Linked DNA regions of Homo sapiens: regions 1, 2 and 3 are each linked to region 4. The links are contacts of gene promoters, found by promoter capture Hi-C in human tissues and cell types (Jung and others, 2019). All regions are on one chromosome and are shown on one strand. Each heading gives the region's core, a stretch centred on a gene start or on the middle of the fragment in contact. The rest is flanking DNA. Distances are from core to core; before and after follow the strand shown. Region 1 has its middle 7.3 kb from the start of RFXAP. Region 2 overlaps SUPT20H (SPT20 homolog, SAGA complex component). Region 3 overlaps RFXAP (regulatory factor X associated protein). Region 4 holds the start of SMAD9 (SMAD family member 9).

Region 1 (2,700 bases), core at 106-2,605, 110 kb before region 4:
TCTTCTTTCAAAGGAGGTCATCTCCTGGCTGTTCTAAACAAAATCAGAACAGTATTTCTGAAATTCTGAGCACAGTCTCTTTTTTGTTCATGCATTATCTACAAACTGAGGAATGCAAGAAACATAAATAGAGGCTTAAAAATGAACTCTATGTTCATTTTTATTTTCCTAATATTCTTCCCACTTTCCTGGAAGCAAAAGATGAGTTTTTTTAAAATAAATTTTAATTAAATAAAATAGTGATACATGATATAATGTGTAATACAGATTGTCATAAACAAATTTCTCATATCAGAATTCTTCAATGTGATTCCTATGCTATAATAACAATGGTAAAGTTCTGTTTTGGTGAGAATTGGTACTCTGTGGACACCAAGCTTCATAGGTGATTGGAAAAGGATTGAAGAAAAGGTGATTGGCAAAAGAAAATTAGAATGGTTCTTTTCCTCAGCCCCCAACTCACAGCATAAATTACTTCTCAGGAAAACATGACGCTGTTTTATGGAAATAAGAAAAAAAGAAAAATAAGCTAGAAAAGGGGAAATGGAGTATAGAGTTGGAAATAGAGGAGAAAAGGCATAGCCCTTTGGTTCTAGAAAATAATTCTTAACTTTCATTAAAGTTAAATAAAAATTAACCATATATCATTTTCTTTACTAAAGGCAGAAGGCCAAGTCAGGGTTAAATTACTCGAATGTTGAGAAAGTGGAATTAAAGCAGTAGATTGAAATTGATTGGTCCCTACCAGCCTGCATCCCCCTTTAAGGGAAACTGCAGTGCCACAGCCCCTGTTCTATGTGAAAGGATTCCTCCTCCAATCAATGACTGACTGGATCAAGAATGGGCACCTTACCCAGGTGTAGACCATCCATGGCTTTTCCATGAGCTCCAACCAACCCAGCAATAGGAAGACAAATTAGGCAAAACAAAGTCTTACCATCTGGAGTCTGAAATGGAAACCCTGGAGAAATGGCACCAGTGAGCAGTGAGAATTAAGATGGAAAGGTCCTAAGGAACTGAAGGACATGAATCCCATTCATGGCCACTATATCTTAAAGTCCCAGCAAGAAACAGAAGATATAGATGGTTCAAAGAAAGAGACTTTAACCAAGACTGTTTGCAGAAATGTAAGCAGGGTTAAGAGAACACACAAAGGACGGTAAAGCCATCCAGAACGTAGCAGCAGCAGGAAGCCATTACTACCCGGGTATGAAGGAGCAGGGGGCAGAAATAGGGTTACTGGTGCTCAGCAAGACCTAGTAATGTGGAAGAGTGCCCCTCAGCAGGAGCTGTAGCCTCAGAGGGATATAGAGACTGCCAGAGAGGCAAAGTGGAGGAGAGAAGCAGAGTGCAGGCAGTATCCTCATCTCTCACTTTCCCCTTGCTCTGGTGGCCCACTTAATGAGTTAGTCAAACCCAGTCGGAATCCAGAGACCATGGGAATTCTGGTATGGTTCAGTCCAGCCTGCCTCCACCCCTAGCACAGAAAAGAACAGGGGACAGCAAGCAAAGTACATCTACAGGTCAAACAGAGACCAACCAGAAAGCCATGTGCAAGCCCAAGTTATGAAGGATCTGAAGAAAGCTGGTAGACAAAGGAAAACTGTCCAGAAAAAAGTAGGTGACCTGAGAGAAAGAGAGCTGGGGAGAGCAGCTGGTCCCTAGACCTGCCTCAATTCTGATGCCATTCTGTTCTAGTTCTGTCCACTCACTGCAATGCCCCACCCTGACCCCCAGAGCTTGAGGCCCCTTTAATAGGCCTTGCTTCCTTGTCATGAAAAATAAGCCAGATTATCAAAAAAGAATAAGCACTTTTTCATCTCACTGTTTCCCACTTAAAGAGACTACTCCTGGCAGGGCGCTGTGGCTCACGCCTGTAATCACTCCAGGACTTTGGGAGGCTGAGGTGAGTGGATCATGAGGTCAAGAGATCGAGCCCATCCTGGCCAACACAGTGAAACTCCGTGTCTACTAAAAATACAAAGATTAGTTGGGCATGGTGGCGTGCACCAGCTACTCAGGAGGCTGAAGCAGGAGAATCGCTTGAACCCAGGAGGCAGAGGTTGCAGTGAGCCGAGATCGCGCCACTGCACTCCAGCCTGGTGAGAGAGTGATATTCCGTCTCAAAAAAAAAGAGAGAGAGAGAGAAAGACTACTCCTTTGGTAATTGATAAGCACCATTTTCAAAAACACAAAAGAAGGAATGTGCATGGCTATAGGGAAATAGGAGGATTAGTAAGGAAATAAATAGAGGAGATGAGGAAGCCCATGCAGAATTTACACAATGCCTTGTCTTTCCAGTAAGTCTTTAAAGAGTAAACGGATGGAATCTAAATGAAATAATGGCAATAGTAATAATGCTAAAATTTTGCTTTGACAATAATCTGAGTTCCTACCACTTAAAAAATACCATATGTGCAAAATCTTACTGGTTGATGACAAATACACTATGTTTACGAATTCCTGAGCTAGGATATCTGTTTGTACATCTAAGTATACTAGATTACTTCTTAGTATGTTATAGATAATTCAGTGATTCTCAACCCTGATTGCATATTAGAATTACCTGGAGAGCTTTTTAATAATATGGATGCCTTGGCCCCTCGCCAGACCAATTGAATCAAAATCCCAAGTGACAGGCGCATAAAAGGTCATTACAGTATATTACATTCTAAACTTAGGAAAGAGCTTACAGATCAT
Region 2 (2,700 bases), core at 81-2,580, 120 kb after region 4:
CTCATCAAAAAAGAGAAATTTTGTAAGAGTTTTGATGGGAAACCATTAGGTATGCACCTTACAGTCCAGATTTGGCTCCTTCTGACTTCTTTTTGTTTCCTAATCTTAAAAAAAAAAAGTTTAAAAAGTACCCATTTTTCTTCAGTTAATAATGTAGAAAAGATTGCATTGATATGGTTCAGTTCCCAGGACCCTCAGTTCTTCAGGGGTGGACTAAATAAATGGTTGATATCATTTACAAGCATCTTGAACTTGATGGAGCTTATATTGAGAAGAAAAGTTTATATTTTTTATTATTATCTTTTAATTCCAGTTTTCCACAAACTTTCTGAAGTCCCCTCATATAACACTGAGCCAGAACTGGAGGGGTTAACTGGTTATTCTCAGGGGTAAGAGAGTTCCCCTCATTTCAAGGCAACCAGTATAAATGGCAAAGAAAGATAGGCTAGGCTAGGGTTTAGAAACTTGAATTATTTGAAAAAAAAAACCAGTATCTATTTGTAACCATGGTAAAAACAAAACATTTTTCTTCTGTTTGAGAGGAGATAAAGAACTAAGTTTTATCTCATTGAATATATTAGGCCAGCTTGACCTTAAAATGATCTTAGGCAACTTGAGGGATTACTACACATATAAAGAGACCCTTAACTTCTAGATCTTATAAAGGAATACCAGCTTTTCACATAAAGCATCAAACTTAATTATTGAATAAAAATAAGCAGAAAATCACTTTTGCTTAATGATAATTTTTTTTCATCCTATATTTTGCCTGTTTGAGATTAAAAAACAAAACAACTAACCTGGGTCCATTTGTGGTTATCACTTGTTATTGAATGTACATCACAAATTAAAGTCTAGAAGAAATAAAAATTTAAAAAACTTATTAATCTATGCACAAACATATGAAGAATTCGATAAATAAAACTCCCAACTAAAATCTAAAATAGTATTTCTTAATTAAACATCCTTACCTGCATTGTTGGACGTAAGAGAATGTGCCGACTTTGGTAACCAGGAGATTTCATGTTACTGGACTGCCTGTAGTCACGTATTTCTGCTATGACACATCCGCAATGAAAAATATTAACCTGTTTGGGCAAAAATACGTAAACGTCATTTTTTTTTCCAAAAGCCTAAATAAGTGGGTTTATATCAAACATTTCGCATTCTTTACATTCATGCAACATTTCTGGCCACTCATGTATGTACTCTTCAGTAGATTTCCTTGGTAGATTTAACACTATGTAAACCTTTTCAGAGGAAGTATTTCATGTTCATCACTATGACACAAGAAGCAATTTAAAACTATTTAATAGTTTCTAATTATAGATTGACTTTGGCATCTACCAAGTCAACAGTTTGACTTTTGGCATTTACATACTATTATGTTACAGATCCTTGGAACTGCTGTTCTTCTGCAGCTCACAGGCTTACTGTTACATTTCACTAACTTTGTCATTACTATAAAGTTTATCATTGTTATAAATTGCCAACCAACCTTGCCAGTGTTTTAGCTTCTAGATATAACTTCTATATTTGCTCTGCTAAAATTTTCAGAAATATAATTTTGCCCTTAGCCTTTATTAATAAGAGGGAAGCTAAATATAAAATTCAAATGAAAAATAGTTTTTCAGGCTGGGTGCAGTAGCTCATGCCTGTAATCCCAGCTTTGGGAGGCCGAGGCGGGTGGATCACAAGGTCAGGAGATCGAGACCATCCTGGCTAACATGGTGAAACTGCGTCTCTACTAAAAATACAAAAAAATTAGCTGGGTGTGGTGGCGAGCGCCTGTAGTCCCAGCTACTCAGGAGGCTGAGGCAGGAGAATGGCATGAACCCAGGCGGTGGGGCTTGCAGTGAGCCGAGATTGGGCCACTGCATTCCAGCCTGGGTGACAGAACGAGACTCCACCTCAAAAAAAAAAAAAAAGAAAAATAGTTTTTCAGTCCTTTCTATGCTCAAATGTAAGAACTATTATCATCGAAGTCTTGCTAGTTATGACTTGCCATGGTCACTCATAGTATGTTTTTCACCCATTCAGAACTTTTAGTGGGTACTGTGGTCTCCATGTTTTGTCATTCTTATTGTCATTCTTTTAAATAAATATTTACTGAGCAACTACAATGCCTACTATGTGCTAGGCACTATCCAGGTACAGCTTCACAGATACAGTAGTCAGACAACATTTGCTCTCAGTTGTGGGAAGACAGGCAATAAACATGTAAACAGAACAAAGTAATTTTAGATAGTGATGAATTCTATAAAGGAAATCAAATAGGGAAGGGCTAATCTGGATTGTATGTGCAGATAGAAACCTTAGGTTTTACCTAAGATCTGAATCACAAGAAACGGCCAGACACTTCAGGGACAGATCATTCCAGACAGAGGGAATAACATATGAGAAGTTCTTACTGTAGGAACAAGCTTGGAGTGTTTTATTGTGGAAATGAGACAAGGATGGATGGAATGCAGCGAGTGAGGATGAGATCTAGAAGATGAAGACAAACAGGAAAGCAAAGGTTTTGTTCAGAGCACTGGGCACGATCATGTATCTTAAAGAGAGACTGGCATTTGCTGATGGACTGAATGTGGAAGGTAAGGACAGAGTCATCTGTTAGACTGAAGAGACTGGTGATAAAACTGGTTTGGGAGGTAAAATAAAGCTCTGTTTTTGTCATGTTAAATTTGAGGAACCTATTAT
Region 3 (2,700 bases), core at 190-2,689, 92 kb before region 4:
TCAAGTAGTTAATGGCATTATATATTGGTATGGCACTTTCAGAAAGCAGTTGGGCAATATGTACCAGGAGTCATCCCTTTCAACTCAGACATCACATTTAATATGAAGACATTTACAGAATGTAAATCCTAAATATGGATAGAGTTAAACATAAAGGTATTGCCAGGAATATATTTCTCATAAATAGTAAAAAAGGTAGTTGAAACAGCCTAAATGTCCAACAGTGTCATAACAGCTAAGATGATTTTTAAATAAAACTGTTTAATAAATAGAAAATGTACTAAGATATAATACATATAATCTGAAAGTCAGTATTTAATGATAGTATGTTCACTTTATTCAGTTTATCTTTTTGCAGCTTATTGGGGCCAAAGATTTTTTTCTCTATAAATTTATGTAAGTATTTTATTATAAAAACCTATTACAGGAGACTGTGGCAGGATGATTGCTTGAGCCGAGGAGTTCAAGACTGCAGTGAGCTATGCTCACGCCACTGCACTCCAGCGTGGGGAACAGAGTGAGACCCTGTCTCTAATAATAATATGTTAATCATAGTCTGTTATATTTGTTATATTATTACAACTATATTTTAAAGTGATGAGTGTACAAAAAGGTATTGGATGTTTTAGAGCAGTTATATTTTTTCCTGAAATTTTGGTATATACCGATATATATGTACATATATATATATACACACCTATACACACAATTTTTAATTTCTTTATGAAGACTTAGTTGCCTAATGAGAAACTTGACTTCTAGCACTAGTTTGTATGTATGTACAAACTGGCATTTAGCTGCTATTTTCACATGTGGCCCCCTTTCATCTCCATTTTTTTTCTTGCTATAATCCTGGGTCAGTGCTACTTTTAGCTCTTTGTTCTTACATATTTCAAGAGAGTATATTTGCTGGCATATTAGAGAAGGTGTTTCCTTTTTACACAAAGTCACCAATAACAGACTTCACCCGTTATTTTTAGGTTTTAGTATTTTGATGTGTGACATCACATTATTTTTAGTTTGCAGCTTAGTTGCAGTGCATCCGATGTAAAAGTGCTTTTGATTCAGGCATATTCTTGTGAACATATTGTATCATATGTAGGGACACATCAGAGTAATTAGCATGAAAACAGTCTAATGACATAGATTAATGCTATTAATAATTTTTTTCTTTTCTTTCTAAGTCGTTACTAAGAAGTCCAGAAGTAGTGCAATTTTTACAGAAACAGCAACAGCTATTAAATCAGCAAGTTTTGGAGCAAAGACAACAGCAGTTTCCAGGAACATCAATGTGAGGGAACTTACCAAGAACATCTACATGGTTTTTTATCTTATTGTAATAGATGAGCATATTTTTTTACCAGACATAAATGGGGTAATAATCTATGCCTGTAGAACATAAACATTTTCCTGTAAATGTATGTGTGCATTTGGGGATAAGTAAGTATTGCACTTTGTGCATCTAATCTTTCAGATTACTGTGAGTTTGAAGAAGTCAGCTTATCTTTCCAAATAACATTTAATTATAATGTTTTTTAAAAAATATATTCCTCTTCAGTCATTGTTACTGAAGGTAATGAAGCAGTTACTTTCTGTGGAAGTCATAAAGTTAATAGATATTAATCTTGACTCATCTAGCTCAGTGGTTCTCATCAAGGGTCAATTTGATTGTCATAGTGACCTTGAAAACCACTGGCTTTTAGTGAGTGGCCAGGAATGCTAAATGTTCTGCAGTGTCAGGGGTAGTCCCACATACTAAAGATTGTCTCACCCGCAGTGCCAATAACACTCCTAAGAAATGTTGATGGCTATTTTGTGGTGCTAACATGTAGTTGGGGCACCTATAATTGGGTTCTCTTAATAACCTTTCTTTGCAGTTAAGACTGAAGCTGTCAAAGAGGTAAGCACATTTTATATAGACGTAAGGAAAGTGATTATTGTTTAATATCTGTGAATTTAGGATGTGCATCTCTTTTCAGAGGTGTGTTAGTAAAACCTGACGGATTAACTAAGCACACTGGGATGTGTCTCCTACAGTTGGCTTCTCTCTTTGATGTTACCTGTTAGTGCTGATCTCTTAAAGCAGACATTTCTTGTTTGTTGAATTTGTGAACAGTATAGATCTCAGCCCACCAATGCCAAGACAAAATTATTTTTCTTATACTTATTTTTTATTAAACAAAATGAAAAAGATCCTTTTCAAAAAGGTGATCCTGAAAATAAAACTAACACTCCAGTATTTTGTCATTGTTTTTCGCAATTGAGCTATCTGAAAACTGTTATTCCTAAGTAATGTTCAAAAATGATAAGTAATCTGGATACCTTTTTCTTATACTTTCTCCTAGGAAAACTTTAAAACTTTAAAAAGGCAAACCTACCAATAGGAATAACAAATTAAATGTCAAGAGAGTATATCCAATATTAGGATATAAATGTATGTGTCTCAAGTTTAACTCTACAAAAATTTGTTACTTGTTTTTTAAACTCTATATATAAAGTTCGACTTAATCATGGCTGTTCTAAGAAGTACTTATGGAGAGCAAGAACGTTTTTGTTCATTTCTTAATGTGTGTGTTTTTACTTGCATATCTGTTCAAAACACTTTTAACAAAATTAATTCATTAAAGTCCAGTTGTTGACCTTTGAGTTAGCTGATTTCTTTATTCTGTTCTTTAGTTTATTCTTACTAGATGCAGAGGA
Region 4 (2,700 bases), core at 106-2,605:
TACTGCTTAGGAGGCAGCATTATTAAATGCCTCACGACTTAACGGTCAGCCTCCATGCTTCTTGCTAACCTACATTTCCAAAAGATCATCCGAGAAATCTGGCAAGCCACCGAAATGGTACTAGTAAACTGGATCCATCCAAAGCACTCCACAGTGCCCTGTGGGTGTGTTTCTCACTGTAAACTACTGGGTAAAGAATTTACATACAATTTTATCTCCAAACTCGATTTGTATCCTTTGTAGGTTAGTTCTCAGGAGTACCCACTCCAGCCCAGAAATAAGTCAACGTAGTATTTCCAAACTATCACTTCAAATGTCCACGGTCAAGGGCAGGAGGAGGAAGGAATAGTAACGGGAAAACTTGTCAGCGATTAGCCATCCATAAAAATGTTCTCCCAGCGCTCCTCCTTCCGATCACAAAGCTGGCGTCAGGCAGTCTCCTGTATCTGCTTCCCACCTCGCCCCCTCCCCTCTGCGGAGAGCTGGCACCGAGGGGCGGGCCAAGGAAAAGACAAACACCCCGGCTCCGACACAGTCCAAGCGCGAGCCCGGAGACACTTCAACAACATTCCTAACTTTTTTTCTCAGTTCGCATGCCTCAAAGGTAAACAAAGCAAAAAGCCTACGAAACAGAAGGCAAGTGAGGCCAATTCGGCGCTGGCGAGTTTAAAAGTGGCCCCCAAAGAGTCACAATGACGACCCCCGCCGCCCCCTCTGTCCGCTGTCCCCTATCTCCAGCTACAGCAAGCGACCCCTCAGGCGCCTATCCTGGTCCCTGCCCACGCCCCGGGCCCCAGCCCCGACCCGACCGCCGCCCCCGCCGCGGGTCGAACATCCCCTGACAGGTCCCGGGGCCCGCGGCGCGGGCGGATGCAGGCGCGAGGAAGGCGAGCTGCGCCGCGGCCAACTCCCCAGAGCAGTCCCCTCCGGCCCCGCGCCCACCCCACCCCACCCCACTCCACCCCAGACAGGCTCCACCAAAAAACCCGGGAACAACGACCGCCAAAAGCCAAGCCTCACGCCGAGGAGCCTCCCAGGCTGCCCCGAGGACGAACAACTTCGCCCTCCACTCAATGCGCTCACACGCACGCACACAAGCAGCGCGCGGCCGAGGAGGGCACGTCTTACCTGTCCCCGCCGTGCCACTCATCCCTCCCCCACCCAGGTCCGGCGCCCCCAACCCCGCCCCCGCCGTGGTCCCCCGGCCGCCCGCTCCGAGCGCCGCGCACTCACTGCCTGGCTGCGCGCGCCCAGCGCCTGCAGGGCCCGGCGGCGGCGGCGGGGACCGAGACAGCGGCTGCAGCAGCGGCGGCGGCGGCGGCGGCGGCGGCGGCCCCAGCCGGCGTCAGTCAGACTGGAGCCGCGAAGCCTCATCGCCCGTATTAGTGCGCCGACCTGGAAAGCGGCCAGGGAGCCCTGCTTGCGGCCCGCCCCCGCCCGCCGCCGCGCGCTCTGGCCGCTCCGGGAGCCGCAGAGGAGGGGGCTGCGCGGGCCCGGCGGGGGGCGGGAGCGAGACCGGCCCCACGGCCACGTGCGCGGAAACTCGCGGCGCGGGGGTGGCGGGGTAGTACTCCTCGCAGCGGCCTGCGGCTCGGTTCCCGCCTCTTCCCCACCCCCAGCCCCGCGCTGCCCTCTCGGTCCCCCTGCGCGACCCCAGGCTCGGCCCCTGCCCGGCCTGCCGGGGTGGCCCGGGGGTGGGGTGGGAGCCCTTTGTCTGCGTGGGTCGCCTCGCGTCTCTCTCTCCCACCCCACCTCTGAGATTTCTTGCCAGCACCTGGAGCCCGAAACCAGAAGAGTTGTCAGCCCAACAAGAATATAGGATCACCGGCCCATCAGTCTGGAGACCCTTCTGAGCTGCTGTTCCTCACATGTTTCTGGGCCCTGATAGTGACTCTCACTTGCCCTGTTTGTTCCTGATTTGCTTTTCGGAGTAAGGGGATCCTGTCCCCATGGACAGTGACAGAGCAACTGGGCCGCAATGGCATAGGCAGAAGAAAATCTAATCACTCTGGGGGTGAGTGGTGGTTAAAACGACTCATGTAATTATGTGGATTGTAATTTCCTTACACATATTTATTTGCTTAACAACCCAGCATGTGAGATATATTATCTAATCTAATAAAAGATACAAACTTATGGGCACACAGCAATGTTACTGTACAACTTTCTCGTCTCACGGCCTGGCTGTCCCCCAGGTAGCCTGCCTCTTAAAGTCACTGTGGACTCCTGGAACCCACTCAGAAACGCCACTTAGGAAGAACCACCTCTGATTCCCCATCAGCCCGTAGTTCCTCACAGAAAAGGCATTTGCTGCAGGGGTGAACGTGGAATAAAGCCACAGGGCAGTTTTCAGCTTGCTCCTGTGTGCAGGAAAGTCATACCTCCAGTTGGCCCCGATGGCGGCTCCGAAATGTAAAGCAAGGCCTTAAATTTAACTGCTTTTTCTAGTTCTCAAAGCACTGCACTTTCTTCATGGCAGATGCTATTTTTGCATTATTATACCGTTGTAGTTGAACGGTGATTTGTTTAAAACAACATTTGCAGCAGAACCTTAAATACCATGCCTTAACCTCAAAGTCTTCTTTCTACACTGGCCCAGATACCTCTGCACCCGGCTATGTGTTGGGTTTGAGATTGTCCTGGGTGAGAAACACCAGGAAACAGCGGGACCGGTAAGGGCTACAGATTATATATTAAGGA

The links. Contacts are between HindIII fragments. The study calls those that stand out against the background at their distance.
Region 1: a contact is called between a fragment that was not itself captured here and the fragment with the promoter of SMAD9 in region 4, in 2 of the 25 tissues and cell types used here (H1 embryonic stem cells and liver).
Region 2: a contact is called between a fragment that was not itself captured here and the fragment with the promoter of SMAD9 in region 4, in 2 of the 25 tissues and cell types used here (adrenal gland and spleen).
Region 3: a fragment that was not itself captured here is called in contact with the fragment with the promoter of SMAD9 in region 4 in 2 of the 25 tissues and cell types used here (bladder and thymus).

The regions. Positions count from the first base shown.
Region 1 is chr13:36,810,541-36,813,240 of GRCh38, forward strand. No RefSeq gene overlaps it. Among named protein-coding and RNA genes, the nearest start is that of RFXAP, 7.3 kb to the right of the region's middle. The HindIII fragment of the contact is 5,306 bases long and covers 1-2,700 here.
Region 2 is chr13:37,039,605-37,042,304 of GRCh38, forward strand. It overlaps SUPT20H (SPT20 homolog, SAGA complex component), which reads right to left. Exons shown (of 26, transcript NM_001014286.3): 8 at 972-1,088; 9 at 801-854. Among named protein-coding and RNA genes, the nearest start is that of SUPT20H, 19 kb to the right of the region's middle. The HindIII fragment of the contact is 4,386 bases long and covers 1-2,700 here.
Region 3 is chr13:36,826,459-36,829,158 of GRCh38, forward strand. RFXAP (regulatory factor X associated protein) reads left to right here. Exons shown (of 3, transcript NM_000538.4): 3 at 1,185-2,646. The coding sequence ends at 1,295. Among named protein-coding and RNA genes, the nearest start is that of RFXAP, 8.6 kb to the left of the region's middle. The HindIII fragment of the contact is 6,804 bases long and covers 1-2,700 here.
Region 4 is chr13:36,918,883-36,921,582 of GRCh38, forward strand. SMAD9 (SMAD family member 9) reads right to left here and starts at 1,356. Exons shown (of 7, transcript NM_001127217.3): 1 at 1,234-1,356. RefSeq lists silencers at 1,267-1,336, 1,447-1,496. The HindIII fragment of the contact is 20,741 bases long and covers 1-2,700 here.